Linked DNA regions of Homo sapiens: regions 2, 3 and 4 are each linked to region 1. Evidence: promoter capture Hi-C in human tissues and cell types (Jung and others, 2019). All regions are on one chromosome and are shown on one strand. Each heading gives the region's core, a stretch centred on a gene start or on the middle of the fragment in contact. The rest is flanking DNA. Distances are from core to core; before and after follow the strand shown. Region 1 holds the start of FAF2 (Fas associated factor family member 2). Region 2 holds the start of LOC124901145 (a long non-coding RNA gene). Region 3 overlaps NSD1 (nuclear receptor binding SET domain protein 1). Region 4 holds the start of NSD1 (nuclear receptor binding SET domain protein 1).

Region 1 (2,700 bases), core at 182-2,681:
AGTAAGTGGGATTCTACCTAGCAGCGCTGCGCACTAAGGTTCTTCATATAGTTGAATAAATGAATATTTACACATTTTATATAAGGAAATAAGTGTATCAATAACTTTAGGTCTATCCTAAGTCAAATTAATAGCAGAAAATACTATTTGGGGGCATTTTGCAGTCTACAAGGCCCTTCTAACATCCATATGTCCATTTGATCTCCCGAACATCCTCAGGAGGTAGATTTTTTTTTTTTTGAGACGGAGTTTCACTCTTGTTGCCCAGGCTGGAGTGCAGTGGCACGATCTCGGCTCACTGCAACCTCCGCCTCCCGGGTTCAAGCGAGTCTCCTGCCTTAGCCTCCCGAGTAGCTGGGACCACAGGCGTGCACCACCACGCCCGGCTAATATTTGTATTTTTAGTAGAGACGGGGTTTCACCATATTGGCCAGAGTGGTCTCGAACTCCTGACCTCGTGATTCGCTGGCCTTGGCCTCCCAAAGTGCTGGGATTACAGGCGTGAGCCACCGCTCCTGGCCTGGGGGTAGACATTTTTAAGACAGTCCTTTCAGAGATAAGGAAACTGGTAACAAAGTGCCAAGGTTACCCACCCTAGTGGTATCCTCCAACCATTCTCCAGCTCAGGGGTAAGTGATCAGTGGCAAATGTTCTTAATACAACATCTTGTATTAACATAACATTTCTGCAAGTTACCACCCTCCTCAAGCATAGTTAAGCACAGGAATCCAGGAATAAGCCAAAAGTAATAAATCCCGACAGACCACTGATGACACTTATCATCTTGCATTGTTTCCTCACTTGGTGTCCTCCCACACCTCTAGGGCGGGGACCAGATCTGTGTGTAGGTGCCCCCTCCCCGACCGGAACCCCCAACACGAAACCTGGTATCCAAGAGGCCCCAGTTTGTGGGAGTGTATGTGGAAATGGCATGGGATGCTGGCAGGAGGTTTTCCTGTCAGAGACCCGAAATGACGCCAACTCCGCGGTGGGGACTAAGCTTCTCCGGCAGATATAGACTCGTTGGGCGGAGAGGGTCCGACCGATAACCGGGCTGGGAAGGATGGCTGAGGACTGACGCCGCTAAGGCAAACCAGGGAAGCTGACACGCTGAGGGCACAGAGGCACAGACGAGGCGGGTCTGCCCGCAGCGATGGCTGGAAGGCTAGGGTCCAACAGAGGCTTGGGGGCCGGGGGAATCAGGGCAGTTGGAGTCTGGGGGGGAGGGGGCCGGCCTGCTGGTCTGAGAAGGATCTGAACCCAATCTGAGGAGGGTTCTGAACTCCTCTAGGGGCCTACTCCCCATCCCACGGAGGCATCTGCTGCACCGAGTACTCGCTGCTACCTGAAACTGCAGCAGCTTCTCTGTCTGCTCCTGGGTTAGATCCCGCTCCTCAGGCGCCGCCATTTTGCCGCCGCCTCTACGCTCCTGACCCGTCCGCACCGTCACCCGCCGGAACTGACCTCAGCCACAACCACATCCGGTCTGAACGGCCGCCGGCGCGCAACTGCGTCTGCGCGCGCTGGCCCACTAACCTCCCCCCGCCCCCCGCCACCTCTGGCCGCCGCCAGAGGGCGCCACGCTCGGGCCTATCCCGAACACTTCCGGAAATTGCCGAGGGACTGTCGGTACAAGTCGCTCTTACCATTTAGGCGACGAAAGGATCTGCTAAGATTAGGCGACGAAAGGAGACCTAAGATTCCAGTGCAGTCTTGCAGAGCCGAGAGGGCCCGAATGTGCCTCGAGAAGCTCCGGAGCATCCCGAATGGCATTCGGCTGATTTCGGCTGCTCTCTAACCATTTTCCGGCAACCTCAGATACTCTTGGAGGTTTCTCGGGAGACGCAGCCGTTCCGAAATACCAGCCTTTTGGTCGCTGGCCCCTGACCTAAAGTTTCCAAAAGCTCCTGACCATCTCTCGGGAGGTTCCGAAGGGCTCTGGATACTGGCGCGGCATTTCCGACGCCGCCTTCGAAGCGGAAGCTGTGGGCAGACTTCGGCCACCGTTCCATTGCCGCTTCGGGGTCACTTGCAGGAAGATCTGGACTCGGCTCCCCGGATCCTCGACCATTCATGGCGCCCCCAGTCGTCCGCACAGCTTGCCGTCCACCGCCGTGACTGCGGCGCTGGAACCCCGGCCCGGCATCTGCTTTTCCGTGCCTGGAGCCTTGTCTCTCCGCACTAGCGCTGCACTGGCCCCTTGTCTCTGTGACAGGCGAAGAAAGATCCCTGGACCGGGATTAGGAGACGCGGGTTCTAGTTGCCACCTTGCCAACTGCTGGACATCCTTGGGCAAACCACTTGGGCTCCATTTTGCCATTTGTTGAATGAGATTCCCCAAAAGCCCCTGACGTGCTGCCGCCGCCCCTTCTCCTCGAGGCAGTCCCCTGCCCTTCCCTTCTGCTGCTTACACTACCCTATCACCACCCCTCAATCTCTATCTTCCTCTGCACGTCCCTTGCCCCTTCTAGTCCGCCACCTCTCTTTAGATTTCCCGTTTTCATTTCCACCTCTCCCGCCGAACGCCTCCTCTGCCCACCTTCCAGAGAGGCCTGGGTCTGGTACACGCTTTTCCACTGACCACCTGTGTGATTCTCAGCAAGGCTCTCGGCCGCCTGCGCCCCACCCTCGTCCCCTTGCAGGGTTGATCCGGTGAGACAGAAAAGGCTTTGAGAGCTGGTTCTGTGAAGAGTACATGAA
Region 2 (2,700 bases), core at 172-2,671, 540 kb before region 1:
CTCTTAACAAGCATGCTGCCTTCAAGCATCTTTTTAACAAAGCACATCTTGCACTGCCCTTAATCCATTTAACCCTGAGTTGACACAGCACATGTTTCAGAGAGCACGGGGTTGGGGGTAAGGTTATAGATTAACAGCATCCCAAGGCAGAAGAATTTTTCTTAGTACAGAACAAAATGGAGTCTCCTATGTCTACTTCTTTCTACACAGGCACAGTAACAACCTGATCTCTCTTTCTTTTCCCCACATTTCCCCCTTTTCTTTTTGACAAAACCGCCATCGTCATCATGGCCTGTTCTCGTTGGTCGCTGTCTCTTCGGAGCTGTTGGGTACACCTCCCAGATGGGGCGGCCGGGCAGAGGCACTCCTCACTCCTAGATGGGGCGGCCAGGCAGAGGCACTCCTCACTCCTAGATGGGGCGGCCAGGCAGAGGCGCTCCTCACATCCCAGACGATAGGCAGCCGGGCAGAGGCGCTCCCCACTTCCCAGACGGGGTGGCGGCCGGGCAGAGGCACTCCTCACTTCCCAGACGGGGAGGCCGGGCAGAGGCACTCCTCACTTCCCAGACGGGGCGGCCGGGCAGAGGCACTCCCCATTTCCCAGACGGGGTGGCGGCCGGCAGAGGCGCTCCTCACATCCCAGATGGGCCGGCCGGGCAGAGGCACTCCTCACTTTCCAGATGGGGCGGCCGGGCAGAGGCGCTCCTCACTTCCCATTCGGGGCGGCCGGGCAGAGGCGCTCCTCACTTCCCAGACAGGGCGGCCGGGCAGAGGCACTCCTCACTTTCCAGACAGGGCGGCCGGGCAGAGGCACTCCTCACTTCCCAGACGGGGCGGCCGGGCAGAGGCACTCCTCACTTCCCAGACGGGGCGGCCGGGCAGAGGCGCTCCTCACTTCCCAGACGGGGCGGCCGGGCAGAGGCGCTCCTCACTTCCTCCCAGACGGGGCGGCTGGGCAGAGGCACTCCTCACTTCCCAGATGGGGTGGCCGGGCAGAGGTGCTCCTCACATCCCAGATGGGGTGGCGGCCGGGCAGAGGCACTCCTCACTTCCTCCCAGACGGGGCAGCCGGGCAGAGGCGCTCCTCACATCCAAGACGATGGGCGGCCAGGCAGGGGCTCCTCACTTCCTAGACGGGGTGGCGGCCGGGTAGAGGCGCTCCTGACTTCCCAGACGGGGTGGCCGGGCAGAGGGGCTCCTCACATCCTAGACGATGGGCAGCCAGGCAGAGACACTGCTCACTTCTTAGATGGGGTGGCGGGCGGGCAGAGGCTGTAATCTTAGCACTTTGGGAGGCCAAGGCAGGCGGCTGGGAGGTGGAGGTTGTAGCGAGCCGAGATCATGCCACTGCACTCCAGCCTGGGCAACATTGAGCATTGAGTGAGCGAGACTCCGTCTGCAATCCCAGCACCTCGGGAGGCCGAGGCGGGCAGATCACCCGAGGCCAGGAGCTGGAGACCAGCCCGGTCAACATGGCGAAACCCGGTCTCCACCAAAAATACAAAAACCAGTCAGGAGTGGCGGTGCGTGCCTGGAATCCCAGGCACTTGGCAGGCCGAGGCAGGAGAATCACGGGAGCCTGAGGCAGGGAGGTTGCAGCGAGCCAAGATCGTGGCAGTATCAGCAACAGAGGGAGACTGAAGAAAGGAGGGAGAGGAGGAGGGGGAGGGGGAGAGGGAGAGGGCTATATTTTTAATGAGTAGTAGACAAGTTAAGAAATGCAGTTTTGCTTCTGTTAGATAGGGTTATCTTTTTCTTTTACAAGATTAAATTGAGGCTGGGCATGGTGGCTCACTCCTGTAACCCCAACACTTTGGGAGGCCAAGGCGGGCAGATGACCTGAGGTCAGGAGTTCAATACCAGCCTGGCCAACATGGTGAAACCCAGTCTCTACAAAAATACAAAAATTAGGCTGGATGTGGTGGCTCATGTCTGTAATCTCAGCACTATGGGAGGCTGACACGGGTGGATCACCTGAAGTGAGGAGTTTGAGACCAGCCTGGCCAACATGGTGAAACTCTGTCTGTACTAAAAATGCAAAAATTAGCCAGTGTGGTGGCGTGTGCCTGTGGTCCCAGCTACTCGGGAGGCTGAGGCAGGAGGATTGCTTGAACCTGGGAGGCAGCGGTTGCAGTGAGCCAAGATCGTGCCATTGCACTCCAGCCTGGGCAACAAAGCGAGACCATCTCAAAAAAAGACTAAGTTGAATAGCTTCTAGAAAACTTATACTTTAAGTAAATTATGATCTTTTTATTCTAGACAAAATTATTGTCCTTTTATTCTAGACAAAAGGATGCCACGGAGAAAGAAAAAAGTTAAAGAAGTCTCCGAATCTCGGAACCTGGAGAAGAAGGATGTGGAAACTACCAGTTCTGTCAGTGTGAAGAGGAAGCGTAGACTTGAGGATGCATTCATTGTGATATCCGATAGTGATGGAGAGGTTAGTGAAGTAGAGCTGAAAAGTAGAGCTGTAGCTCTCAAACTATGCTTCTTTACCCATGGGGAGTTTGTTTCGTGACTGACTTCACCTTAATGCCAGCTCACCAAAACCATGAAATTTTTACTCAGCTTTGTTTTAATTTGTAAATGGAATGAAGAATTACTTAAGGTAGTAATCCTGTTGCTTGGTTGAGGATGGATCATAGTTCTTCAGTTTTATAATATAGTAATCCAAAGTGGCATTTTGGAACTATTTGAATC
Region 3 (2,700 bases), core at 50-2,549, 840 kb before region 1:
ACCAGCTCCCACTCCTGGCACACAGGCAAGATTGGTTCTATCATAGCCTGCGCCAGTGACGACCCTGAGCAGTTGATTCTGAAACAATTCTACTTCCTGGTGCTGACAGGTCAATGTGATGGCCTTGCCCTCATCCTACCTCAGTTTCTTTTATTTCATGACCCTGGCCAATATACAGTGAAGGAAAGCCAATTTGGGGACAAATTCCTTTTACTTATACCCTAAAGTTCTTAACGTTCTGCAACTCTTGGAAGCAGGTCACTAGTAATGTATAATCTCCTCACCCTGGAATGGCTCCCTACTGGTTTCTCTTTTTTGTTCATTAAAATAGATGGCATATCCAAATCCCTAAAATTCTCTAACCCCAAATCACTACTCAAAGGTTCTCAATTTCTTCAACTACAAATTTCCTGGGTACCACATCCACCTGAGCAGCTTTCTCATGTATTAACTGATACAACCAAATCTCCTTTAGAGGAAAAAAGTCTACTCTGCATGGGGGGAGACTGCACTAGGCGTAGGGGAGCAAGGTAGGAAGTGCTAAAAGGGTGGCAATCCATCTCTCACTGACTAGAACCACCTAAAGGCTTTACTATCTCAATCTTTCTTTCTCTAGAAAGGCAACATGATTTAATAGTCTTGGAGTCAAAAACCCAGCTCTCAATCCAGCTCCTCTATCTATGTGTGAAAGATCACCTCCCCAATCCTCACTCTGTTTCTTCACATGCATTATGGAAGAAAACCAACCATTATGGGCTGCTGGGGGAATGAAATAAACATGACTGTAAGTAAAGGACCTGAAACACAGCAAGTGCACCGCTGTCCCATTCTTCATAACTAAGAATTCTAAGCCTTTGCTTTCATTATTTCCAAAATAAGAAAATAGACCATACCCCTCAAAATTATGCATGGAAAGACCAAATGGCACTTTCTTCAAGGCTGATGCAAATGGCATGAGACCCTGAGTATGATGGAGAGAACGAGTAGCGGTACAAATGGATTTTGGCACCAACCTGCTGGTCGCTTGGTCAGATTGAGACAGTCTGCGTGGTAAACTTTTGGGCAGCCTGGTTTCTTGCAGGAGACGAGCTGGCCAGCATCCCCACAACTAAAACACTCATCTTCTCGCTCCTTTGTGATTTCACCCTGGGTCCTGCGCTTTCCCTGTTGCTTCTTCTTGAATTTCTTTGACTTTTCTTCCGTGGCAATGGGTTGATTCTACAGGTCAGATATTGAACAGTCAGCATTCTGTGAACACATTAGTACCAATCTTAACCGGGTTAACTACCCTCTCTGAGCCTCATTCTCTTCTCTGGGAAAAGAGATTGTCATGAAGATAAAATGCAGGAAAGGTACCTGGTACATCACAGATACGTAGCAATAATTTTTGTATCAACTACTCCTGCCACCTGAACAAAACAGAAGACAAAAATCTTTGTGTTTTTGCTGATCCATAAGGCTGGTGTTAAATGACATGCCTTTCATAAGTTTTATTAGTTAATTAATTTATTTATTTTTCAAGACGGAGTCTTGCTGTGTTGCCCAGGCTGGAGTGCAGTGGCGCGATCTCGGCTCACTGCAACCTCCGCCTGCTGGGTTCAAGCAATTCTCCTGCCTCAGCCTCCTGAGTAGCTGGGATTACAGGCGCCCACCACCACTCCTGGCTAATTTTTGTATTTTTAGTAGAGACGGGTTTTCAGCATATTGGTTAAGCTGGTCTCGAACTCCTGACCTTGTGACCCACCCGCTTTGGCCTCCTAAAGTGCTAGGATTACAGGCGTGAGCCACCGCACCTGGCCAAAGTTTCACTTTTATATTCGTCTACTTTCAGAACTAAACTAGACTTCTGTGTGTGGGTACACATGCCTATTTCTCGTTCATTCAACAAAGCATAACTGAACTTACTATAAGCAATGTGTTAAGACACAAAAAAGTTAATTCATGGTCCCTGCCGTCAATAAGACTACACATCAAGTCAAATTAGCTTCAGGTCCACCACTCCCAAGGCAGACCCTGGAGCAGCCAGCAGATGTTCTCTCTTTGTTCCCTGCAGCCCACACTTGGTCACCAAATCATCTTATCACATTCTTCATTTTAACCCAGAAACATCCAGGACCAATCTGTAAGGCTTAATGGAGGTCCACCCTATTCTGACAGACCAGTATCTACTAAGAGCACACAGTGACCTCTCTAGCATCTACCTCTGACTGACTCCTGTGAAATGCTATCCCATGCAGACATCAAGGATGCTGAAACTGACATCCGCACTACACTTAATACCATTAAGTACAGGTTAAACTGAGTTACTATTTTAATTTATAGGAAACAAGTCAACATCTTAAGGAACAACACCGTTAAACCAACAAAACTAAACAAAAAGCACAATAAAATCCAGTATAATATAGAGGTGATTCTCCTTATTTAACAAGATTAAAAAATGATCATTGAGTGCTCTTCATTTCTGGCCAGGCGCAGTGGCTCACGCCTGTAATCCCAGCACTTTGGGAGGCTGAGGCAGGTGGATCACCTGAGGTCAGGAGTTTGAGACCAGCCTGGCCAACATGGGGAAACCCCATCTCCACTAAAAATACAAAAAATTAGCCAGGTGTGGTGGCAGGGGCCTGTAATCCCAGCTACCTGGGAGGCTGAGGCAGGAGAATCACTTGAACCTGGGAGACGGAGGTTACAGTGAGCCGAGAT
Region 4 (2,700 bases), core at 100-2,599, 690 kb before region 1:
TTCACAGGTCTGATCCATCCTGGGCCGGCATCAACCTGGAATCCAAAAGCACAGCAATTAATCTGAGTTAATAGGCCATCTGACTCGACTCTTTAAAATGGCAGCCACTTCAAGGCCTAGTGGCCTCTATGCCTTTCTGCTGCACTTCCATGGGCAGAAAAAGTTCCCCCGACTGGAGATGAAAAAATGGCCTCGATGAGCCTCTGAAAACTCCATTTTCCCGAAGCTGGGCCGATCCTGCTACATAGAAACAGCCCGTCTCTTTTTCCTCCTCTGTAGACTGGTGGACACTTGGGATGAACTAAAATTAAAACCCCTCTGCCCGTCAAAATTCCCAATTCTCAAACAGGACTAGTCCTCCCCCTCCCTCGCCAGGGGTCGAGCAGCTGGATCTCTCAAAAGCAAAAGGCTGCGGGGTCCGAGGGGGGCTCCTGGACCCTGCACAAAAAGGTACCCCCCCCTTCCTGGCTCGCTAGGGCGCAGCGGTCACAATAGCGCTGCACCCTGCGCCCAGCCAGCGCCGGAGCCTTTGCAGCGGCGGTGCGCAGGCCGCAGGCGAGCCGGCCGAGGCGGCTGCACCCCAGAGCTCGCCTTCCTGAATGCAGGCCTGCTGGATCCGCAGCTGCAGGGCGAAGAGGCCTGGACCCGGCAGAGGGAGAAACCGAGGCGGCCAGCGAAGCCCAGTCAGGGTAGCAGCAGCTGCTACAGCTCGAAAAACATGGCTGCTGCCGACGCCGCCGCCGCCTGCCCGGGCCGCGCTCCTTCCCGCAGCCGCGGCAGCACCTCCCAGCCGAGCCGATCGCTCTCATCAATATTCAGCAGCAAGCAAAGTTTGCTGCGGGAGGGCAGCCGGCCCCGCGCCCCGCAGCCTGCTACCTGAGGGGAGGCGGAGGCCGAGGTGTTCGCAGGCGGCCGGCGGGGCACGGGCCGCGCCGGGAGGAAGTTCGCGGCAGCCCGGCCAGCTAGGCCTGAGCCCGGCTGGTAGTGATGGAGGAGGGGGAGGGGGAGGAGGCCGGCGGCTGCAGCGCCGCCGGCCACCAACCCCGCATCGCGCCTGGCCCTCCCCCGAGCCCCTCACCTTACGGCCACCACCATCTTCCCCGCCCGGCCACCCTCCTCCCTCCCTTCTCCTCGCGCCTGCCCGCCGCCCACCCCAGCGCACTAGTTACCGTGCCCCGCGCCCCCTCCCGGGCCAGCTGGGGGGAGGGGGTGACCCTCATTACACTGGGGTGCGAGCGGAGCGGTGGGGAGAGAGCGGGGCCGCTCGCCGCACCCCCCTCCCCCCGCGTCTCTCTTCAGGGGAGAAGGCAGCGAGCGCGACCTGCCCCGGCCTATTCCGCCGCCGCCTCCTCCTCCTCACACCCCCACCGCGCGCGCCCCCGCGGCCGCGCGTGCGACCGAGCGCCTCGCGCCGGCCCGCGTGCGGCTGGGCCCCGAGTGCGCGCGCACCCCTTCCCCCACCGAGCGCGCGCGTTCCCTTCTCTCACTCTTCGGGGTTCAGGGCGGGTGAAGTCGGGCTTGTGAGAGCGCCGCCCAATCAGCGGAGCTGCCGCTGCCGCCCCCTCCCCTCCCCCTGCGCGCCCGCTCGCGGCCGGGGCCTACGGGCCGGCCCGGCTGCCCGGGCGGGGCCTGAGGCGGGCTCCCCAGGGGCCTCGCGCGCCTCCTTGGAGTGTCGGGGCCTGCGGGCGTCGTGGGTGGCATTCCGATCCCCTCACCTACCTCGGGGCACGGCGCTGGCCTCGGGCCGCACACGGCTCCCGCACCCTACGCGTCTCGAACCCCAACCCAGGCGGCACCTGGCGCGGCTGAGGCCTGTCCGATCGTCCCGCCAGCCCTGCTCGGGCCCGCGTCAGTCCCGGCCTCCATCTTAGGTTACAGCCCAGGCTCCCCATCCACTGGGCACCTGCCCTCAGCCCGCTGGGTTCGGCCCGAGGCCAAGGCAACCCCCCTCCTGCCGCAGGGCTCACCTGGGGGCTTGGGCTGGGGTCTTCGAGGCCTCAGGCCCCGAGCAGACGCGGCCGCAGGCGAACCCCCTACCCGGCCGCACCCCAAACCCACACCACCACCACCACCACCACCACAGACCAAGCTGAGCAGGAAACAAAATGGAGGCAGCAGCTCGGGTCTGCCTCCCTGAGCCAAGCCTGTGCAGCCCCAGGGCTCCCTCCTGTCTCAGGCTCGACGCCCGCGAGGCAGAGGCTGGATCGTCCCGGGTGCCGCGGGCAGCCGCCCTACAGCAGCGCAGACGGGCCGGGGACTCGGCCCTGCGGTGCCCACAGCCCCTCACCCACCACCCCTTCCCTTCCCCCTCCCCCCATCCCTCTCCCTCCCCTTGCCGGGCCGTGCGGGGTGAGCGGCTCTGGGGAGCCGGGTCGGGTTACCCGCCCCGGCACTGCTCGCCCGGCCGTGGCCTCCGCGGGGGAACGAAGCCAGGCGACCCCAGCGCTGAGCCCACCCCCGGCACCGAGCCGGGCTGCAGCCTGACAGCGCGTCCGCACCTCGGCCTGCAGCCGTGCGGCCCCCGCCCAGGGAGGCCGAGTCCCCAGCCCGGGCCCAGCCGGGACGAAGCTCCCTCACCACCCCCGAGCCCAGGGGTCCTCGCAGCCTCGGGCGGGGCGAGGGGAACGCCGGGGGAGGGGGTCCTCTAGTCCCTGCACCGCCTCCCGCGCCTAGTCAAGGTCTGGGCCTGGCACGGGGGCT

Evidence for each region. The method cuts DNA at HindIII sites, captures the fragments that hold promoters and counts their contacts. A contact is called where the count stands out against the background at its distance.
Region 2: a contact is called between a fragment that was not itself captured here and the fragment with the promoter of FAF2 in region 1, in 1 of the 25 tissues and cell types used here (lymphoblastoid cells).
Region 3: a fragment that was not itself captured here is called in contact with the fragment with the promoter of FAF2 in region 1 in 1 of the 25 tissues and cell types used here (hippocampus).
Region 4: a contact is called between the fragment with the promoter of NSD1 here and the fragment with the promoter of FAF2 in region 1, in 1 of the 25 tissues and cell types used here (hippocampus).

What each region holds. Positions count from the first base shown.
Region 1 is chr5:176,447,116-176,449,815 of GRCh38, reverse strand. FAF2 (Fas associated factor family member 2) reads right to left here and starts at 1,431. Exons shown (of 11, transcript NM_014613.3): 1 at 1,346-1,431. The coding sequence starts at 1,408. RefSeq lists enhancers at 1,351-1,410, 1,721-1,780, 1,861-2,050 and a silencer at 1,491-1,540. The HindIII fragment of the contact is 18,873 bases long and covers 1-2,700 here.
Region 2 is chr5:176,982,209-176,984,908 of GRCh38, reverse strand. UIMC1 (ubiquitin interaction motif containing 1) reads left to right here. Exons shown (of 15, transcript NM_001199298.2): 2 at 2,286-2,440. The coding sequence starts at 2,294. LOC124901145 (a long non-coding RNA gene) reads left to right here and starts at 2,447. Exons shown (of 2, transcript XR_007059073.1): 1 at 2,447-2,700. RefSeq lists a silencer at 1-154. The HindIII fragment of the contact is 7,476 bases long and covers 1-2,700 here.
Region 3 is chr5:177,290,472-177,293,171 of GRCh38, reverse strand. It overlaps NSD1 (nuclear receptor binding SET domain protein 1), which reads right to left. Exons shown (of 23, transcript NM_022455.5): 22 at 1,014-1,218. Among named protein-coding and RNA genes, the nearest start is that of RAB24, 12 kb to the left of the region's middle. The HindIII fragment of the contact is 5,839 bases long and covers 1-2,700 here.
Region 4 is chr5:177,132,422-177,135,121 of GRCh38, reverse strand. NSD1 (nuclear receptor binding SET domain protein 1) reads right to left here and starts at 1,349. Exons shown (of 23, transcript NM_022455.5): 1 at 1,170-1,349; 2 at 1-35. The coding sequence starts at 18. RefSeq lists enhancers at 147-700, 701-1,252, 1,253-1,806, 2,020-2,314, 1,807-2,358 and silencers at 714-1,013, 1,074-1,233, 1,314-1,983. The HindIII fragment of the contact is 15,853 bases long and covers 1-2,700 here.